Linked DNA regions of Homo sapiens: region 1 is linked to region 2. Evidence: promoter capture Hi-C in 16 types of primary human blood cells and fetal thymus (Javierre and others, 2016). All regions are on one chromosome and are shown on one strand. Each heading gives the region's core, a stretch centred on a gene start or on the middle of the fragment in contact. The rest is flanking DNA. Distances are from core to core; before and after follow the strand shown. Region 1 holds the start of TRIM44 (tripartite motif containing 44). Region 2 holds the start of TTC17 (tetratricopeptide repeat domain 17).

Evidence for each region. The method cuts DNA at HindIII sites, captures the fragments that hold promoters and counts their contacts. A CHiCAGO score of 5 or more calls a contact.
Region 1: the fragment with the promoter of TRIM44 here is called in contact with the fragment with the promoter of TTC17 in region 2 in 2 of 17 cell types (non-activated CD4 T cells and total CD4 T cells); the score reaches 6.5 in non-activated CD4 T cells.

What each region holds. Positions count from the first base shown.
Region 1 is chr11:35,661,039-35,667,920 of GRCh38, forward strand. TRIM44 (tripartite motif containing 44) reads left to right here and starts at 1,737. Exons shown (of 5, transcript NM_017583.6): 1 at 1,737-2,742. The coding sequence starts at 2,074. RefSeq lists enhancers at 1,394-1,713, 1,925-2,425 and a silencer at 1,754-2,133. The HindIII fragment of the contact is 12,326 bases long and covers 760-6,882 here.
Region 2 is chr11:43,355,567-43,362,580 of GRCh38, forward strand. It overlaps TTC17 (tetratricopeptide repeat domain 17), which reads left to right and starts at 3,354. Exons shown (of 24, transcript NM_018259.6): 1 at 3,354-3,547. The coding sequence starts at 3,389. RefSeq lists an enhancer at 3,213-3,482 and a silencer at 3,613-3,692. The HindIII fragment of the contact is 2,829 bases long and covers 2,935-5,763 here.

The sequences.
Region 1 (6,882 bases), core at 487-2,986, 7.7 Mb before region 2:
TCATTGAATAAAAGACTTTCTAAATGTGAGAACGTTATGTTTGTAAAGGCTAAGTTGTTTCCTTTTAAGCCTGGGGGAGGACAGGAGTAGAAATAACCAAGCAAGGCACACTTCTCATTAGGTATATTAACGTTGATGTTTGAGTTGACATTTGTTGAATTTTTTTTTTCAGAATGGTGCTTCAATTCATGTTTCAAAAGCAGACACAGAAATAATTTCCAGAGAAATGAGCTGGGGGAAAACAGAAATGTGTATGGAATTGGAACAAAATAAACCTGATTTTTTTCAACATTGTATAGAATTGTTCTGAGGTTAAAAAGAAAGGTTTCTAAAAAATAAATATCTAACAAAAGCTGCACAAAGATTAGGCATACATTATCCATGGAGACATTAAAAACTATTAAAAAGGTTTTTTTACCCCACCTCATCCCCTGGTATGTTTGAGGAAAGCATCTGGAAATTCTAACTCAAAATCATCTAAGGGAATCAATGTAAAACAGACACCATTCCATCCCCTTTCATCCTTCTTAATACACCTCAGCCTCTCCCTTGACTAGATAAAAACGTAATTTTCCCTCTCCCAAATACAGTGCAAAACAAAAACTCTTCTGTGAATGGAGAGACATGGATATGGGGTAGAGGTGGAGACTTGCCTACATTACCAGCAGCCAGCCGAAAATGCCCTGTGTGTGTAAAATATGTTCCTTCAAAGGGGCATTGTGAGCACTAAATATAATTTGTGCCAAAAATAATAATGAAAGCTTAGTGAATACTCTACAGTGCAGGCATCGTTACATTTAATCCACAAAACTACCCCATGAGGTAGATATTTACCGTTCTTTTCACTTAACATCTTTTTTAAAAAGCGGAAAACAGAATGATGAATTAACTTGTCCATGGTCATAAAACTGATAGGTAGTGGCACCAGGATTTGGGGACCATCGGGCAGAGGATCTTCCAAAACCGGCTTTTAAAGAGCCACAAAAAGATGTAGCCGGGTTCTTGGCACTACAGTACTGCTTTATAAACAACAGTTCCCTTCTTTTCTCTTAGAGCCCAGTGGGAATCTAGAGGGACACCTTACATAAAGGAAAATGACTGCAACCTGGACCTGTCACTCGACAAATACTGCCTCTCCCCACCTCACTTCACCTGACGTCTCTGCCCAACCGAAGGCAGCTCTCAGAAAACCGCACAGAGGTTACCACCCCAGAAATTCTGAGATCCTAGGAGGTAGCAATGCAAATAGACAAAGCACAGTATTGCTTTGGATCGAAAATATTTGTTTGCTCATCCTAACTCCAATTCCCCTAGCCTAGAACAAACATAGCCCTTCCGCACTCAGGAAATCCCAAGAGGTCAGGTTCAGTCTGGTAAACAACACTGTCCGGGCACCTTGCAGAACACTGGGGACTGTGACGGGCGGCGACAAATTGGCACAAGAGAGACTGAAATGCACAGGGACACCAGCCTAGTGGCCGTGAAAACTCAAGTTGACACTTCCAGGGAGGGAATGGGGGAGGTGGAGCCCAATTCCTGCTTCTGGAGAGAGTAAGAGACTTCCTCCATCCTCCTTCTCCCTCCTCCTCCTCCAAGGCACGCTGAGATTTGGAGCGGAGGAGCTGAGCCCCGCGGGAAAAGCAGAAAAGGGTCATTGCCACTTTAAATGACTCAGGAAGTAAAAGGAGGCCTCCTGACGGGGAAAGGGAAAGTGGAACCGGGGCGGCGCGGGGGCCGGCGGCTGCCGCGATCTCTCCCTGGTAGCGGGAGGCTGAGCGGGCGGCGCGACGCGGGGGCCGACGGGGGCGCCGGGTGGCCGCGCCGGAAGTGCCTTGCGCGGCAGAGGAAGCGCAGGGACAGAGCGGAGCAGGCCGAGCCGGCGGAAAGGGTCTTTGCTGCTGCGCCCGGGCAGGGGCTGCCGCGGCCCCAGGTCCCGCTTCGAGACGCGGCGCGGTCCAGGCGGGAGGCGACTCCCTAGGAAGGGACCCGGGGCGGGAGGAGGAAGTGAGGCCGCGCGGAAGGAAGGCGGCGAGCCCCGGGGCCCCGAGGCCTTGGCCGCGTCACAGCACCCACATGGCCTCTGGAGTGGGCGCGGCCTTCGAGGAACTGCCTCACGACGGCACGTGTGACGAGTGCGAGCCCGACGAGGCTCCGGGGGCCGAGGAAGTGTGCCGAGAATGCGGCTTCTGCTACTGCCGCCGCCATGCCGAGGCGCACAGGCAGAAGTTCCTCAGTCACCATCTGGCCGAATACGTCCACGGCTCCCAGGCCTGGACCCCGCCAGCTGACGGAGAGGGGGCGGGGAAGGAAGAAGCGGAGGTCAAGGTGGAGCAGGAGAGGGAGATAGAAAGCGAGGCAGGGGAAGAGAGTGAGTCGGAGGAAGAGAGCGAGTCAGAGGAAGAGAGCGAGACAGAGGAAGAGAGTGAGGATGAGAGCGATGAGGAGAGTGAAGAAGACAGCGAGGAAGAAATGGAGGATGAGCAAGAAAGCGAGGCCGAAGAAGACAACCAAGAAGAAGGGGAATCCGAGGCGGAGGGAGAAACTGAGGCAGAAAGTGAATTTGACCCAGAAATAGAAATGGAAGCAGAGAGAGTGGCCAAGAGGAAGTGTCCGGACCATGGGCTTGATTTGAGTACCTATTGCCAGGAAGATAGGCAGCTCATCTGTGTCCTGTGTCCAGTCATTGGGGCTCACCAGGGCCACCAACTCTCCACCCTAGACGAAGCCTTTGAAGAATTAAGAGTAAGTATTGGGCCTTCAGAGCATAAACCTAGGGGTCAGGACACCTGGGTTTCAACTCAGGTGGCCTGGCTGTGACCACATTCGCTTTCACTGTGTCCCTAAGAAGCTAGTCTTTCCAACTTTTTGGGAGCAGTTCTTATTCACCGTTTTTGGTTGAACTCTTTTGAGAATCTGATGAAAGTTCTGGACTCTGACCTGAGAAAATACACACAAAATCTAGTATACAATTTCTAGAAAATTGCAAGTTTCTGGTCTGTGGATCCCAGGTAAAGCATTTCTTGGGAGTTTTGACCCCACTTAGGCCAATTTCCACAGCATCACTATTGTTGAAACTGGTGCTTTGTGCTAGGGCTCTTGATAAGGCAATCTTTTTGCCTACTTGAAAACATGGGAAATAGGATTTTGCCACATGAATCCAAGCAAGTGATACGTCTGCATTGAAAAGACTAACAAAATAGTTTTAATAGTAACTTCATATGTGCCCCGAGTTCATTTTAGATTCTTCGTGTTTGAAACTTAGTAGAAAAGGAGGGTAAGAAGATGGAGGCCAAATTGGGGTGGGAGTGGAAGTTCCCATGTCCTCTGTCTGGATCTTTGTCTGTCGTGGACCTTACTGGTCCCCCAGAACAGTGGACACTTCGGAAATATTTGTTGAATGAATGAATTTGCAGACGATGCACCTTTTATTCATATTGTGGATGTTTACTATCATTGAGAGAAACTGCTGGTGTTAATCGGGGAGGGAGGGGGAAATTTTGAGTGGAGTGATCAGTTCATTAAGTAATCTGTATTAGTGAACATTGTCATATTATGATGACTTTTGCTTCCCTGAATAGGGAATAGCTGGCATTGGGATAACAAATACCTTGAGAGTGAAGATCCTCTGTATTAGGTTTTCCCTTTTTTAGTGCCTATTTATAATTGTAAAATGCACATTCAGAAAGTGTGTAAAAACTTACAGTCTAACAAATAATTATAAAACAAGTACTGAGGTAGTCTCCATCCAGATTAAGAAATAGAACATTACTAGCAATATTGAAGCCTTTTCCCCATACCTTTTCCAATTATAACCATCTCTCTTCTGCATAAGTAAGCATAATCTTGACTTCTGTGATCATTTCCTTGCTTACCTTTATGCTTTTACTCCATGTGTATGCATTCCTAAACTTATTTGAACTTGACACTATGGGTGTCATATTTTTATCATGCATTCTTCTGGGTTTTGCTTCATTTTCTCAACATTGTGTTTGTGAGAGTCATCCTATGAGTGACTGTAGTTTATTCACTTTCATTACTATTTCGAATTCCATTTTATGAATATGCCACAAGTTATCTATTCTGTCATAGATGGTCATTTGATTTGTTCCCAGGTTTGGGAGCGTCGGGCTGTTACAAACAATGTCAGTGTAAATATTCTTGGTCATGTCTCGGTGTACATTTAACATACATTTAAGTGGAATATAAACGCAGGAGTGAAATTGCTGTGTCAGAGGCTATGCATATCTTCAGTAATACTACATGTTGCCAACTATTTTCCAGAGTGGTTGTACCAGTTTGAATCACTATGAAGAGTATATGAGAGTTCCTGTTGCTCTGTATCTTCAAAACTTGCTATTACTGTATTTTTCATTTTTGTCAATCTTGTGGCTATGTAATGGTATTTTATTGTGGTTTTAATTTTCATTCCTCTGATTACTAATGACTTTGAGGATCTTTTATACTTCCTCTGTGAAGTACCTAGTCAGTTCTTTTGCCCATTTTTCTATTGAGTTGTCTTTTCTCATTATATGAGTTTTTATATATCTGTTTTTTTTTTTTTTTTTTTTTTTTTTGAGATAGAGTCTTGCTCTGTTGCCCAGGCTGGAGTACAGTGGCTAGATCTCAGCTCACTGGAACCTGCGCCTCCCAGGTTCAAACGATTCTCCTGCCTCAGCCATCTGAGTAGCTGGGATTACAGGCACATGCCACAATGCCTAGCTAATTTTTGTATTTTTTTTTTAGTAGAGATGTTTTTGCCATGTTGACCAGGCTGGTCTTGAACTCCTGACCTCAGGTGATCTGCCTGCCAAAGTGTTGGGATTATAGGTGTTAGCCACTGTGCCCAGCTATATATTTGTTTCTGATTTTTTTTGTTGTTCTTTCTATGTGGGTTGCAAATATCTTCTATGTGGTTTTTCTTTTTAAAGAAGTTGTGCCTTGAATAGAAGCTCTTCATTTTAATGTGGTAAAACTTATCAATACTTTTCCTTATGGTTAGTGCTTTTTGTGTCTTGTTCTACTTAGTATTGATTTTTGTGTAGTAGAAGTAGGGGCGCAATTTCATTTTTTCTCCATACAGATGGCCAATTGCTATTGCTGTATTTATTGAAAAGCCCTTCCTTTGTGCACTGATTTGCTGTCCCACTGTCATATATCAAGTGCCCATAATATGTGTGAATGTGTTTCTTGGTTCTTCTGTTCTCTACTGTTTATCTGTTAGTATATCCCTGTGTGAACAGCATGTTTTCTCAGTTATCCCTTTATAATATGTCTTAATATCTGGTAAAGCAGGTCCTTCCATCTTGTCCTACAAGAGTGTGTTGGCCAGTTTTGGCACTTTACATTTCTTAGAATCATAGTATTAAAAAGCCTGCAGGAGTGTATTTGGATATTAAATTTATAAGCCAATATAGGGAGAATTAATATCATTACAACATGAAGTCTTCTGATTCATTAATTTAGGTCTTTTTTATTGCTTCGCAGTTAAGTTTTATATTTTTTTCCTCAAAGATTTTTCACATCATTGTAAAATTTATTCCTAGATACTTCATAATTTTATAATATTGTAGAAAATATGAGCCAGGCACAGTGGCTCACACCTGTCAGCTATATGGAAGGCTGAGGTGGGAGGATTGCTTCAGTCTAGGAGTTTGAGGCTGCAGTGAGTTATGATCCTGCCATTTCCCTCCAGCCTGGTCGACACGGCAAGACCCTATCTCTAAAATAAAAATAAATGGTTTTAAGTTTTGTTTTCTAATTGAATATAGGAATATGATTAACTTTTATATATTGTTTTTTTGTGATCTATCTGCTGAATTATCTTACATATCCTAATAATTTATCTGTAGATTTATTCTACATACCTGATTGTATTATGTGTGAAGAGAGATACTTTTTGTTTGTTTCTTTTCAATCCTTATATCTGTTATTTGTTTTTTCTTGCCTTACTGCATTGGATAGCACCCCGAGTATTATGTTGAATGGATGTGGTTGGTGGGTATTCTGGCCTTGTTCCTAGTCTAGCAGTAATTGATAACATTGCACAAATAAGTGATATGTTCTATGGTTTTTGAAAATAGATATGTTTTATCAGTTTAAAAAAATTCTAGTCCTGGTTTGCTAAGTTTTTCTGAATTTTGATTGGTTATTTAATATCAAATGCTTTTTTTGCATCTTTTGGGATGATCATGTGATTTTCTCTTTCACTTTTATGATGATGAATTACATTAATTGATTTACTTATTAAAGTTAATTTTTAAAATCAGTGATACATTCATATACCTCAAAAGCCTGTGTCCTTTTCACCTGATTCTTCTACCAGCTGTTGGTAACTACTTGTTTTTTCTTAGAAACAGGATCTTACTCTGTTGATCAGGCTGGAATGCAGTGGTGGGAGCATAGCTCACTGTAATCTCAAATTCCTGGGCTTAAGCAATCCTCCCACCTGAGCATCCTGAGTTGCTAGGACTACAGGTGTGCCACCATGCCTGGCTAACTATTTATTTTTTATTTTGTAGAGATGGGTGTCTTGCTATGTTGCCCAAGTTGGTCTTGAACTCCTAGCCTCAAGCAGTCCTCCCGCCTCAACCTCCTACAGCTGTGGGATTACAGGCTGTTCCTGGCCAATAACCATTTTTATTAGTTTTTTGGTTACCCTTCAGGTGTGTGTTTCTGCAAATATAGGTGTGTGCATATATATGGTCTTACTTTCATCTCTTCGTATTGTTGTATTTTATAATTAAAGCAGAAAGACTAGCATTTCTGGGATATCCTTGATCCAACTTGGTCATAATGAAGTAGCCTTATGTTTTTGGATTTGGCTTATTAATAATTTATGTAGTTTTTTTTCATTTATATTTATGGGAGAAATTGGCCTATCAT
Region 2 (7,014 bases), core at 2,104-4,603:
GCATAAAATCTCCCCTACGTATATTAAAACATCATGTTGTACACTAAATATATACAATTTTGTCCATTTCACCTTAATAGAGTAGAAAAGGGGGAAATTTCCTAACTTGACTATGTGGGTAAAACATGAATACGATATCACTCCTGTGATCATAGGTTTGGATGTGGTTAGGGCCGCCAAAACTCATGTTGAAATTTGGTACCCAATGTGGCAGTGTTGGGAGATGGGGCCTAGTGGAAGGTTTCTGGGTCATGGGGGTGGATCTGTCATGAACAGATTAATGCCCTCACGGTGGTGGGGGGGGAGGTGAGTTCTTGCTCTCTCAGGAATGAATTAGTTCTCGAGTGTGGGTTGTTAAAAGAGTTTGGCTTTCTTGATTTGTCTCTCTTGCTGCTTCTCTCAACATGTGATCTCTATGCACACCCACTCCCCTTCTGCTTTCCTCCCTAAGTGGAAGCAGCGTGAGGCCCTTACCAGATGCGGCTGCCCAATCTTGGACTTTTCAGCCACCAGAATCATAAGCCAATTAAACCTCTTTTCTTTATGAATTGCCCAGCTTTAGGTATTCTGTTATAACAACACAAAATGGACTAAGATAATGTTATATGGCAAACGAAATTTTTGCAGATGGCATTAAAGTTACTAATCAGTTGAATAAAAAGGGATATTATTCAGATAGACCTTATCAACTCACATGAGCCCTTTAAGTCTAGGCTTAGAGATAGAGGAATTCAAGAGATTTCAGCAGTGGAAATATTCTGCTTGCCTTCAAGGAATAACTGCCATTGTGAGAGCCACATGGCAGAAAACTGTGGGTAGCCTCAATGTTAATGGCCACAATCAGCAGCCAGTAAGAAAATGGAGCCCTCAGTCCTACATTGGCAATAAATTGAATTCTGCCAAGGACTTGAAGAATGAGCTTGACTGAGGAACCCCAAGCCTCAGATGAGATTGCAGCCTTGATATGAGCCTTGTGACACTGAGCAGAGAACTCAGTCACACCACAGCAGAAGACTTTTGCCCCAAGGAAACTGTCAGATAATGTGTTAAGCTAAGTTTGTGGCAATTGTTACACAGCATTAGAAAACTAATACAGGATCCCAAAAGATAAGAGTTATCATCTACAGAAAATAGGTGGTATAATAAAGCTATAGAAGCTATAATTCCACCCCTTTAGAGGTTAACTTGTGAAGGTCAAAGAAATTGCTGATAGCAAAATATGTGATGCTGGGGCCTTTCTCAAATTCCTCACTAACATTCATTCATTCTCAGGCTCTCAGATCTAGAGTCAGGTGGATCTGAGTCCAAACCTGAGCTCTACCACTTAGCAATATGATCTTGGCCAACTTACTTAACTAGCCAGAGCTTGGTAAGTTGTGACGATTAATAGGAACTATGCATGTACAGGACCCAGTACGTATTAAACACTCAAGAAATGTTAGATGATGATGATGTCAGCTTTATACACAAGAAATAGGGTTGACCTCTATGCCCCAAAAATAAGATGCTGAGACAAAAGGGATTCCATCATTTGCCACTTCTCTATTTTAAAATTCTGAAACACTCCCTATTGCCTATGTCTAAACTCCAAGAAACTCTTAAAACATGCCACTGACTTCACCTTTTCGTTTCTTGAGACGGATTCTCGCTCTGTCACTTAGGCTGGAGTGCAGTGGTGTGATCTCGGCTCACTGCAATCCCCGCCTCCCGTGTTCAAGCAATTCTCTGCCTCAGCCTCCCAAGTAGCTGGAATTACAGGTGCCCGCCACCATGCCCGGCTGATTTTTGTATTTTTAGTAGAGGCGGGGTTTCACCATCTTGGCCAGGCCAGTCTTGAACTCCTGACCTCAGTGATCCATCCACCTCGGCCTCCCAAAGTGCTGGGATTACAGGCGTGAGCCACCGCGCCCGGCCAACTTCACCTTTTCACTTATTATTCTGCCTGAACCAGCACCTGAGCTCCAAACCTTTTTTTCACCTGGTTGGTTGCTCTCTCCTGTACATATGCATTCATACACCCCCATTATCCTGTATTTTAATTGTTAACCTGCCAATAATATCTCACTATATTGCACACTGCCCAATGGTTACATTTCCATACCCAGAGACTATCAGAGTACCAGGCAAAAAGCAAATAAGCCATATATTTTTAATGAAATGAATGTTCAGTCTTCAGGCCTTTAAGAAAAGCTGTTCCTGGAATGAAGAAAAAAAAAACACCAATGCTGTGGTTGTTTCTACATTTCTATAGCGTGGTGTTTAAACACTTAGCAACTGCTCTCCTGCATACACTTGTGTAGAGAAGTGGTTAAACAATATTCTCATCCTTCTTTTCCCAAGGAGAAAACCAAAAGCATACCAACCTTAAATAACACACACAGAGGGCAATCTTGAAAGACCTAAAATGACATATCTAGCAAGAAGCTGGCAGCCAAGCTTGACGCCTGCCTGCCTGCCTGTTGGTTCACTAGAAGAAAGTGGTTCTCAAACTTTAATATGTATACCAGTCACCTGAGGCTATTGTTAAAATGTAGTCTGATTCAGCAGGTTGCGGGGGAGAGGGAGAAGAGCCGAGAATGTGCAGGTCTAAAAAGCTCCCAGGTGATGCCAATGTTTCTGGTCTCCAGACCTAGACCTCTAGCTTAGACCTGTGCTGACCAGTACGTTAGCCACATGCGGGTATTAAGCCCCTGAAATATGACTAGATAAGCTGTCAGTGTAACATGCCGATTTCCAAGACTTAGTTAAAAAAAAAAAAACTAAACTATCTCAATGATTTGTACAGACCACATTGAATTAATATTTTGTGTACTTTGAGTTAAATAAAATGTACTAGTAGGGTTACTTCCCTCTATATTTTACATTCCACACGTGGCTCGCATTATAGTGCTACTGGACAGCGGTGCCCTAAACTAACAACCGTCTCCATTCTGAAGCTTCCACTATTGTGAGACTTTAAGAATAAAAGCAACACCTCTCTTCCCATAGGTGGTTCGAAAGCACACCTTTTGTTCCCCAACTATCTACCAGAAATAAAACGAAAAAACAAAGATTTAAAAAACAATAAAATTGAGTCCTTTCACTTCTGCTTAAGCGCCACCTAAGCCACTGCTTTTGTCTCCCTCCGGTTCCCACGCTCCGAGATCGTATCACCCACAGAAAAACAATAACTAAAAAGCGGTCTCCATCCCTGAAGCCAAGCTGGGAGAGTAGCCGAAGGTCGCGCTTCCTGGCCGCCAAAACCGAGGTGGAGGAAACTTGGTAGTCAGCGAGCTACGCCCTCTCGGCTCCTCCTCCTGCTCCTCCTCCAGGGCCGACCTCTTCAAGATGGCGGGCGCCGGAGACTAGCTTCCGCTTCCGGTGTGAGCGGCCCGGCCGGGGGGGCAAGATGGCGGCGGCAGTAGGGGTTCGTGGCCGGTACGAGCTGCCGCCTTGCTCCGGCCCAGGCTGGCTCCTCAGCCTTTCCGCCTTGCTGAGTGTGGCGGCACGAGGGGCCTTCGCCACCACGCACTGGGTCGTCACGGAGGACGGGAAAATCCAGCAGCAGGTAGCGGCCGGGGCGTCCCTCTTCTCCCGTGCCCGCCCTCGCCCCGGGGGGATTACCCTGCTTGGCCCCTGGCTGTTGGGCTCCGCGCGGCCCCGCCCCCAGCCTACCCTCACAGGGAGGTGGCACCGCGACCTCGGACTCCCTGCATTCGGACCAGGCAGGCACTTCCCGCTCCCCACTTGTCTCCTGGTCCTCGTTTGGCCCCCTAGAAGTTCTCACCCTTCCACCTCGCGGGCCGCGCGCCGCGTGGGGAAGAGTCGCCCAGCTGCGGGAGACGGGCCCTACGGACCTTTTTTTAGCTCGGGGTTTAGAAATCACAGATTTCAGGATTCCTGCCTTTGGTGCCTCTCGGGTTCACGCGTCACCGGCCCTCCCCGAGGAAATAGAAAGCAGGTGGCAGCTCCAGGGTGTGCGCGAGTCCCATGGTATGACAGCTTCTGGACCCCTAGCCTGTGGACCATTCGTGCTGCTCCCCTAGTCTCGTCTACCACATGGTGGATTTCGTTTCTGGTTGTGTTGGTTTCAGCTTGTACCGTTACTCAGGTCAGCAGTGGCTCATTAGAAACAACATAGAAACACTCCCCTTCAGAAGGAATGCTTGAAGATGCCGCTGGTGGCGTTGCCTGCATCTTTTCAGCTGTTACTGCCCTCGTTTCCCAGTGCACTTTGCTTTGTTTCTTTACCTAGTTCTTGTGACCCAGCCTCGCATGGAGGATATGCGATTTCCTGGATTCTTGTATGCCTGAACTAATTCCTCAGAGGCGAGACTGCTTTTCTTATATAACTTTATGATTGCCTGCGTTTTGTAAATGCTGCTGATGCCTAACGAGTGCGTGTGTGTGTTCCGCTACAGAATATTGGTAAACTTACTGACTTCGAACACTTGAGGACAATCTTGAAGTGTCTAGCAAACATTTAGAAAGTGAATTGTGTGCCCCATGCAATTTAGCCCACTGATCTAAAACGTTTTAACTAGTGTGGTGGGAAATTACTGGTCCTTTGGATTGTGTGTAATGAATCATGATAGGAACACATTCCAACGTTTAAGGTGAGGTTTAGATTTAGATTTGCCGTGTAATGTAATTGCAAATTCTATCTCAAGTAAGTTAAGTATAACTAAAAATCCGCCTAGGTATTCATGAGTGGTTTTCAGCATATCTAAGAAAAGACCGTGTTCCTATTGGGTAACGTTTTCTATATGACATACATAAAGAACAGTTTCCTTTTCATTGCCATACTATCTGAGACTTTAAATATATGTGTATGTGTTTCAGAAACCCAAGAAAACACTGTAAGACCATATGTGAGTGCTGGTTGCTTCCACCCTTCTTTTGTTTCTTGATAGTGGTTTTCCCTGAGGTCTCTATGAAGACGTGGAATTAAGTCACTCCTGCTGCATTTTGGGGAGCCTTTCTCCTGTTGGCTCTTCTGCAATATTGTTTTTGGCCACAGCTATTTATACTCTATGACATTGACTTCTCCTTCCCATTTTGGTGTCCTACCACTCAGCTGAAAAAGTAGCCCATCTAAAAAGTGAAAGCTGGTAGAAATGTTTTATGTATATACTTAACATTGCAATGGGAAAGTAGAGTCTGATTTTTTTTTTTTTTTTAACAAATTCCTTCTTTTTGCACTTTGGATACATATGTATTAATGGGGGAAGGCAGGGGTTACTGGAAACTTGCCTCAGAGAAGCAGGGAAGAGCTGAAGAATCTTTTGGATCTCTGCCAAGTCACTGCTGAGCTAAGTAATTAGGCTTAAAGTTTAAAAAGCAAGATTTCTCTATTACATGACTTTTTAAGTGATCCTTTTCATTGAATTTTCCAATACTTTGCTATACATAACATTTACAATGTTATGTTCAGGCAGCCACAAGATTTTATGCCAGAAGAAATAAGGTTGGTGTCTGCAGTGTAACAATAAGAGGCCAGGGGAGGAAAGTTGGATTTAATCTGAAGAAAAGGCACCACATATAAATAAAGTAAAAGAATTGGGTGCTGTGGTGAGCTGCCGAGTTCCACTCTGATAGCTGATTGTGCATGACCCATGCTTCCCTTCCTGGCCATAATTTGTATGCAGGTAGAATCCAAACTATCAATTTAGATCGTGATTAATTATAATATTTGTATATACTGTACTTAAGGACTTGAAAGATCACATTAGTGTATGAAATCCATATATATTGCAGATTTGTACATTCAGAAACATAATTAAAAGCTTAGTATATACAGATGCTCCTCAGCTTATGAAGGGGTTATGTGCTGATAAACTCATTGTAAGTCGAAAATACTGTAAGTCAAAAATGCATTTAATGTACCTACCAAACATTGTAGCTTAGCCTAACCTACCTTAAACGTGCTCACAATACTTACATTAGCCAAATTTGGGCAAAATCATCTAACAGCATCTTTTACAATAAAGTATCAAAATACCTCATGTAATTCATGAATACTTCACTGAAAGTGAAAAACAGAATGGTTATATGGGCACTCAGTACAGTTGCTACCAAATGCATGTCACTTTTGCAGCATTGTAAAGTCAAGAAATTATAAGTTGAACCATCGAAAGGTGGGGACCATCTGTATACTTTGTCCTGACATACCAAATTCTTGCTGCTTATTCTTGGTTACAATATTTGAATGAGAGCATAAGTGTGATTTCAGTTTTAAAGTGACCTACTACCAGGCAAAGGGCTAAGGGCTAACTGGATTAACAGCTTTTAGAAAATTAGAGTGGTACATACCTTTTGAGAACCTTTAATATTAAACACACCCAGATTAGATATATGGGTCATTGTTTTCCACAGTGATCATAAAGAAGTACTTATGACTTAAAAATCTGAATTGTCCAACCATCATTATAACTTTTTTTTTTTTTTTTTTTGAGATGGAGTTTTGCTCTTGTTGCCCAGGCTGGAGTGCAATGGCGCTATCTTGGCTCACCACAACCTCCGCCTCCCGGGTTCAAGTGATTCTCCTGCCTCAGCATCCCGAGTAGCTGGGATTACAGGCATGCACTACCACACCCGGCTAATTTGTGTGTGTGTGTGTGTGTGTGTGTGTGTGTGTGTGTGTGTGTGTATTTTTAGTAGAGACAGGGTTTTACCATACTGGACAGGCTGGTCTCAAACTCCAAACCTTGTGATCCGCCCACCTTGGCCTCTCAAAGTGCTGGGATTACAGGCGTGAGCCGCTGTGCCCGGCCATTATAACTTTTTAAGTACATCAAGGAGTCTTTCCCAGGAGAGATGAAAATTCATTTGATTTTTTATATTTCAAGGTTTAGCAGACAATAAAGATAGGCACCCACCAGTTACATACCGCAGACTTGTCAACATGCGTATGTATTGGAAATGGTACATCCTTTGGTGGGTTGAAAAGGGGGTTAAGTAAGAGCAAGGAGCATACATTCCTGCAGGCAACCTCTTCACAGTCAGAGCTGGGGCTGCTGCAGGCAGCAGCTGGTG